2 separate regions of the Homo sapiens genome follow, and region 1 is linked to region 2. Evidence: promoter capture Hi-C in human tissues and cell types (Jung and others, 2019). All regions are on one chromosome and are shown on one strand. The core of a region is centred on a gene start or on the middle of the fragment in contact, and the rest is flanking DNA. Distances in the headings are between cores, read along the strand shown.

Region 1 (4,015 bases), core at 1,496-3,995, 140 kb after region 2:
CCCAAACTGGTGCAAACCTGGCATATAGTTGGTGCTAAATAAATGCTTAATAAGTGAATAGGCAAATGTTTTCTTTCTCCCTTATAGTAGTCCTCAGAACCTGTTATAATCTGACATGGATCATTTGTAGTTTAATACGAATTTAAGGAAATTGCTATCACACCCAGATGTTTATAGTAAAGCCTTATCTATAACAGTAAAATGAAAGCATATTCTTCAACTGAAGGTATTTAAACGTTAGCAAATTAGTTGGGGAAACTGGAGACCCAGGCTCTTCCAAGGTTCTTGAAATCAGCACCCCAGTAATAATGCTAACAGCTGTTGTGCGTCTATTATGTGTCAGGTTTTAAGAAAACCACACTTTGTGGGCCGGGCGCGGTGCCTCACGCCTGTAATCCCAGCACTTTGGGAGGCTGAGGTGGTCGGATCACAAGGTCAGCAGATCGAGACCATCCTGGCTAACACAGTGAAACCACATCTCTACTAAAAAAAAAAATAGCAAAAATATTAACTGGGCATGGTGGCGGACGCCTGTAGTCCCAGCTACTAGGGAGGGTGAGGCAGGAGAATGTCATGAACCCAGGAGGTGGAACTTGCAGTGAGCCAAGATCACGCGACTGCACTCCAGCCTGGGCGACAGAGCAAGAATCTGTCAAAAAAAGAAAAGAAAAGAAAAGAATACCACACTGTGTGAGTTATCTGGAGTCCTCACATCCTCACATCCTCACAGAAATGCTGCCGGGTGGGTATTCTTACTCAACAGGTGGGACAAATGAAGTTCAGAGAGGGCAATAAGCCACATAGCTACTCTTTATCTTTCTCAGCCTTGTTAGTCCCCAGAGGGAGGTCGGTGGCTGGAAGAAAATGTTTTAATCATCATTTTCCAGAAGAACAGGTTCCCAGAACTATTCTCCTTGCGTTTTTTTCCACATATTGAATTTCTGAACAGTAGCAATTTCGTGGCCAGGACAGACTCTTGCTTGTAGGAGACATACTAAGCGTTTCTCTAGATTGCTTCTCTAGTTATTTGCAGCTGATTTTTTCGCAAATCATCTCTGAAGAAACACAGACAAATCTTTCCTTCATTAGCTTCGTCTACAGCTCCGTGAAGTTTAGCAAGGGAACTGCATTATTTTGAATAATTCAGCTTTCCATCCCAACAGTTCCCCATATATAAGAAAGTACCTGTATTAGAGTACTATGGGCCTGGCTGGCCCCCTTGTTTATATAGATGAAGGTCTGTCTCATGTGGAGTCAAGTTTGGCGATATTTGCAGCAATATAATGAGGTATGAATTGAGGATTAATTCCCAGCCCTGTTACTAGACCTGTTACTGAACAGACTTCAAAATCCAATTATAAATTATAATGCAATATAACATATTTCCAACTCTTACAGAACCTCAGGGACTTGAAGAAATCATTTACCTTGGAGTTATTTACATTTATTGGTTCTTGTTTTCACAATGCCCAATACTTCCAATTTATTATTTCAGGATTCTATTTTTTGCTGAATCCTTGCTCTAATGCTTCCTGTGTTATCAGCTTATGGAAATGAGGAGCTTGTTTTCTATGAGGGGGGCATGGGGGTTCTCTCCGCAAAGGCGCATCCCCAAAGGGAGTTTGTATGGGGCTTAGTTTTTGATTTTAGAATATTTTGGCATTACTGACACACTTAAGACCCAGAGTTTGAAAAAATTAACCATCTTTTCCCCTGAGTATAAAAACCAAACAAACAAAACAAACCATTGTGAACAATGTGGAAAATTTCAATTTGAACATTTAAATGAAAAAAATTAAAATACATATAATTACACCATTCAGTGATTAGAACTATCAATATTTTTGCATATTTATAGGTGCAGTGTTTTTTAGTGTTAAGCACTATGCTGTTTTGCATGGATTGACTTACTTAAGCTTTTCAGCCATTTCACAAGATAAGTAATATTATCCACATTTTCTAAATGAGAAACCAGCACAGCAAGGTTAAGTAATTTGCACAAGGCCATCCAGAGAGAGTTAGAGGTAGGTGTGGGATTCAGACCCACCTAAGCAGTCTAATGCTAGATTTCTGATTTCAGACTCTTCCTTCAACTTCATCAGTGTCATGTTTCCATGTAGATGTACAATGGATGTCATATCAGTGGCTATACATATTTTGTACTTAATGCAGTTACTTATACTGTGTATATAGTTTAGTTTCCCTTCTGGTTGTTTTTTTTTTTTTTTTTTTTTTTTTTTTTGAGACGGAGTCTCGCTTGTGTCCCCCAGGCTGGAGTGCAATGCCATGATCTTGGCTCACTGCAACCTCTGCCTCCCGGGTTCAGGAGATTCTCCTGCCTCAGCCTCCCAAGTAGCTGGGACTACAGGTGCCTGCCACCACGCCCGGCTAATTTTTGTATTTTTAGTAGAGACAGGGTTTCACCATGTTGGCCAGGCTGGTCTCGAACTCCTGAACTCAGATGATCCGCCTGCCTCGGCCTCCCAAAGTGCTAGGATTAATGGTGTGAGCCACCTCGCCCAGGCTTCCATTTTTTACTTATCATGTCATGTGTATTTTTCTCTCCGTTATATTAAGTTGTTTAAAAAAATCATTTTAAATTGTGATTGCATTTTCAGAAAACAAAATATTTATGTCTCACTTCACATCATGTTCCTAATTAAATTTTAGATGAATTAAAGATCTTTAAAGTTTGTAAACAAATTAATGTTTTGGAAAAAAATTAGGAAAATGCAAGGGAATCAACTCACTTGAGTTTGAACCACAGTCCAGCTAGTTAACAGCTCTGTTTTTTGGACAGATTACTTAACCTGTTTGAGCCTCTGCTTCTTAATCTGTAAAATGAAAATGAGATAGTTTCTAAACCAGAGGTTTGTTAAAGGATTAAACAGAATGTTTAGTACTGTGCCAGGCATATAGTAAGCTCTCAGTAAATGTTGGATGCTGCTATTACATGCAGGAATAGAAAAAAACTTTGTCCACAATTTCGAAGGACTACCATCCCTACTTTTCATTTCAAAGGCTGACTCTCAATAACCCATTCTGTTTAAATGACCAGATCCCCTCAACCGTCATCCCATCTTGATAAGAGAGGTTTATTTTAATTGGTATCTAATGAGGAATTGCTATTATTCTTAGACGTAGCTTGGGATGAATTAAGTCAGCTTCAAGTCAAGTTCAGAAATGATAATGTCTTCCTTCCTCTCAGCTTATTTTTTTCTTTATCATAGAATCACAAATGACAAGTTTGAACTATGAGTCTGCATGTTTAGAAGAAGCAAAAAATCTGATTTCCATAACCAGTCTCCATCTCCAAGGGAAAAAGCTGGCAGAATGGCTAAGCAGAAAGGGTGGATGAATTTGATTCCAGAGTCCTGGGTTAGATTTAGCCCAGACCACCCATCCAAATGAAGCCAGAATTGTATGAGATTCAACACCAGGCCACTGACACTTAAACATTTTAATTTGCTCAATCTCCAGGATGGCAAATCTGCATGTAAACCCTGCTATATGCTCAACTTGTTTAGGTCTGAATGATAAAGTCAAGACAGCAGCATTTAATCAGAAGGCAGGGAACAATGTGTGGGAGATTAATGAAGCACTCAGCACTTCCAAGAAATTCTGAGTGACTATTCCAGCAAGGGTGAAGCACAGTATTTTAGGGTTCAAGAATACCTTTGAGATAACTCATGCCAAGCTTCTCTTCATGTGCTTATTGTCTATCTCAATATCTTATTTGATAAAAATATCTGTTCAAATCTTTGTCCATTTTTCTTTCAGTTGGATAGCTTCTTTTCTTGTTCTCCTGTTGTAAGAGGTCTTCACACATTTGAGATGCAAGTTCTCTGTCAGACACATGGATTGTGAATATGTTCTGTCGCTTGCCATTCTGCCTTCTTTATGTTGTTTTTCAAAGAGCAAAATTTTAAAATTTTGATAAGGTTCAATTTATCAGTTTTGAAAAAAAAAACCTTTTGAGAAATGTACAGTTTAAAGAAACAGTCTCTTCACCAAT
Region 2 (4,419 bases), core at 1,294-3,793:
GGATCCCTCATGTTTTATAGCCACATCCACTATCCACTGGTCCCCCCTTTCTTAAACCGGCATCTACGAATCTGTCTTCTGTTTGCGTAATTCTCGTCCTTTCAAGAATGTTATGTAAATGGAAATATACATCATGTAATTTTTTGAGATATGCTTTTTTTCACTCAGCATAATTCTTTGGGCATTCATCCAGATTTTGTGTATTAATTGTTCATATCTTTTTATTGCTGAGTAATAGTCCATGATGTGAATGTACCACACTTTGTTTAACTATTCACTGATTGAAGGATACTTGGGTTGTTTCCAGTTTGGGGCTATTATGAATAAAGCTGCTATAAACATTTATCTATAGGTTTTGTATGAACATAAGTTTTCATTTCTCTGGGTGAAATCCCAGGTTTTATATTATGCTATTACGTTGTATTAAATATATAACATATATTTCTAATATGGATTAAAACAAATTTATAACCATTAACAATGTTCTTCATATATTACCTAAAATATCTCATGTACCATCAGTAGCATATGTACTACTCTCCAGGAAAACACTGTTCTAAACAGAACCCAAATCATTCAGCCTTTTTCTGTAATTATATATGGGAAGTGGTTCAGTGACAGCCTAGACACTGGAGTTGAATGGTATTGGTTTAACTCAGGACAATTCCTAACTCTGTGACCTTGGGCATGTCATGTAACCTCTATAAGCTTTGGTCTTCTCATTTGAAAATGGGCATAATCTTTTCAGAATTATGAAAATAAAAGGAAATAATTCATGTGTTTGGAACCTTAAAAAGCATTCCATAAATGATACTTTTTATTACCATGTGGATCAGAACAGTGGGGAAAAGCCATTAACTTATGGGGAAAATCCATTAACTTAAAAGGCAAGCAGGGAGCCCACACTAGAGGGCAAAATAAGGGAGAAGCTAGCAGCCTCCCTTCTGGGACCAAGGGCAGGGTTCTGCAAAATGTACATATATGACTTCTAGGGGGTGCTATTCAATTTCATCCTTAGACTTGTGTATAGTTATTATAATGATTTTCTGGCAGATGGCAGTAAAATGTCCTGAGGAGGGAGCACCATTTCCTAATTCACCCAGAGATAACTTATGGGTAGGATTAATCTCCCGTAGACCCCTCTGAGACTCCTTTAATAATAATTTAATTTTTAAGTGATTCTACTACTATAAACATGTACACACATACACATACTGTGACACAGAACAATGCAAATACAGTTTCAGGAGATTCAGGAATTTTGAAGACCACCCATGTTAAAAGCCCAGTTCTAAGTGGTCTCAGAATCTCTAGAAGGTGTTTCCCATTCCCATCCTCCCCACTCTCATCCCCAATCTATCTAGAACATAATTAACAAAGGTGATTTAGCTCCAGAGCCTAGGAACACACTGCTGCAATTTCTGATATGAGCAGAACCCTCCCCTTCTTAAGTTTTTAAATATTTTTGTGTTGGTACTGAATTTATTTGGTTGTATTGCTTCCCCCGGAGTGCCTACTTTTCATTGAAAGTGGAAATCTCTGCAGTATTTTATTTTGTCCATGGAAGTTCACAAGCTTGGTCTTTGATGCTTCCAGGACTCATTAAAACACCTCACTTCTACATGTCTGAACTATAGCCCATGGACCTGGTAAGAGAGAAGCCCAAAGAAATTGGAAAATAAATCACCACACTGACTTTCCAAATTAAAATATATTATATTTTGGATGTTTCATACCTGTCTATATGGTTTTGTCATTGGCAAAAAAATAGCAAGTCTAAGGCAGTTTTAACGTTACATTAAACAATGTGTCCATAGTGAAATGTGATTAGTACATATTTCAGCAGCCCAAATTGCTGGGATAGGAGAAAGAAAGCACTGATCGTGGACCTATTTCGAAGAATGCACTAATGACTTTTCAAAATAATAGTATTTTCACGGGATGTGAGATGTCCAAAATTCTGATGCTGAAATATCAACATAGGATCAGAACTTATTTTAGTCTCCTATGCCACATTGAAACTTAATTTCGAGTGGAAAGGAAAGGTTTTCCCTGTTACAATTAAGATGTTTCTGATCATAAAATGAAGCTTACATTGTCACACTAGATTTCTTGATCCAACGCAGTACCCTCCCCGCCAATCCATCCAGAGTCCTCATTCCTAAATGCAATGCTTAAAAGGACATGCCACTATGCCAAACCCAAAGACTCTCATTTGACAGAAAAGGAAATGAATCTCTGTTACCTTTCTATCCCCTTCCTTTTGAATGAGCCATTTTTCTTCTTGAGTTGCTGGAATCTTCGGCACTGTCCAACTTTTCTGTAGGCAATCTTAAAGGGTTCTGGTAGATACAGCTGAGGTTGGGCCATTGCTCTCAACTTCACCTGTAGTAGCCGTTTTGGATTGTTTTAGTTCTTGAACTTACAGACTTCAATACAAAATCATCCAGTGACTGAATGTACTGTCAAGGTGTGGGCTATTCGGAATAAAATATGTAGGAAATTTTTAGAGTCTTTCCCTTATTCCCTTCCAGGTGTTAGAGACATTATTTGTGGGACTGGCCCTGTTTACAACTTCACAGAGGTCACCAGTGATGTATTTGACAGAGCTGTGTGAAATTCCATGGACCTTTGTGGAACACTTCACAGATTCTTGAACAAGGCAAATACAGAAATGATGATCTGATTGCCTCAATGCTGGCATTTGGATAGAAAAAAAAAATCAAACAACAACAACAACAACAAAAAACACCCACACACTAATTGACCACCACATTCAGAAGTGCGTATTTGAACTCTGAAGTGGTAGGGACCTATAGGAATACCAACGATACGCTGATTAACACAAGTTGAGCTTCTGTTAGATCTCTCAGTTACAGCTGGTGAATGTTCTCTGTGTCCTGTGGGACACATATGACAAGGCCAGTTGTTGTTTGGACATCTCAAAATGTACCCCAAGGGTGGTTTTCATTACATCTTGGAATTTTGCAGTGGTCTCTCAAAGTACATTGCTAAATTGAGGACCTGATCCACCCCTCCCTTCCAACATTGCCCCATTTATTTCGTGGTGAAGAGCGAATTCTGCCTGTGATGGAACTTCTCACCACAAGGTGGCAGCAGACACTAGGATTTATTCCTGTTACCCTCTCGCGGTTTGAGTTGTTCAGTCAAATAACTAGATGCTTAACAAGAAAAACTCCTCTAGAAAGGTTCTGGGAGTTACAAGAATTACTCTGCTTTCTGTGTTTGCATTAATCAATAATCTGGAGCATACTTCTCAAGCTTTCAAGTGCACACAAACTTCCTGGAGGTCTTTTTAAGATGCAGATTTCGATACAGTACATCTGGGCTGGGATCCAAGAATTTGCACTCCTAACAAACCCGCAGGTGACGCTGATGATGCCAGACTGCACTTGGAGTAGTGAGGGTCTTGTATGTTTCAGTACTGGGGAAAAGAGCTTTAAAATGGTCTAGAATGAAGTGTATAATGTTAAGGGGCTAAGAGAGTGGATTTGGGAATTATGCATGAGTTCTCATTTCTAGCTTAGCTATGTGACCTTGGCCAATTCATTTTAACCCACCCATGCTTGTTTTCTCATCCCTAAAGTGGGACAACTCATAGTGCCCAAGCCATAGTTTTATGGCAAAATTCAAGTGAAATAGAAATTCCGCTTCAGCAGGGAATGAGACCCAGGAATCCATATTCTAGGAGAGTGGGTGCAGATGTTCCTCTGTCCCTTATTTGAGAAACGCTGAAGTAGAGCATATCTAATATGCCTTGGCCAAATGGACATATGCTCCTCCCTGGTCTGTTTTTCCTCATCTGTTGGCATCCTCAGAGCACAATAAATAATAGGTGCTTGAATAAATGAATACATGAATATTTTCTTTAGCAACAGGGCAATATTTTTCATGCAATTATTGGCACTCCTGCCTTAATTCTGTTGTATTTCATCAATTATCTAGATGAATGAGATGAATTTTATGCTAGGAAAGACAGCTGTTTTTTATTTGTGCATGGGTGTCTATGTACATGTCTCTGTGTGTGCATGTCTGCATGTATGTGTGTATGTAATAGGCTGAAACACTTGCTGCTGTGGCATCTGTGACAAAACTTGTAGGTTCCCAAAGGAGTCCTGAAGCAGATGACAGAACTAGAAGGAGTGGGAAGGGGGTGGGGAAAGAGTTAGAGTATAGAGAGACATCAATTTTGAGCTGTGTCTGGATTTACATTCTAGATCTACCCCTTCCAAGCTTATGGGTCCTTGGGCGGGTAACGAAAACCTCTTTGGACCTTCATTTTCTCGTTCGTAAAACAGGAGTAATAACTGCTACCTCCCAAGCTTCTTTGAGTCATTCAGTTATTTAACAAATATTTGAATGCCTAGTGGTTCCCAGGCACCACCCTAGACACCACCC

Evidence for each region. The method cuts DNA at HindIII sites, captures the fragments that hold promoters and counts their contacts. A contact is called where the count stands out against the background at its distance.
Region 1: a fragment that was not itself captured here is called in contact with the fragment with the promoter of C3orf49 in region 2 in 2 of the 25 tissues and cell types used here (heart right ventricle and mesendoderm cells).

The regions. Positions count from the first base shown.
Region 1 is chr3:63,681,144-63,685,158 of GRCh38, reverse strand. No RefSeq gene overlaps it. Among named protein-coding and RNA genes, the nearest start is that of SNTN, 30 kb to the right of the region's middle. The HindIII fragment of the contact is 4,842 bases long and covers 325-4,015 here.
Region 2 is chr3:63,817,423-63,821,841 of GRCh38, reverse strand. It overlaps C3orf49 (chromosome 3 open reading frame 49), which reads right to left and starts at 2,543. Exons shown (of 7, transcript NM_001355236.2): 1 at 2,246-2,543. The coding sequence starts at 2,370. RefSeq lists a silencer at 3,077-3,196. The HindIII fragment of the contact is 1,936 bases long and covers 1,833-3,768 here.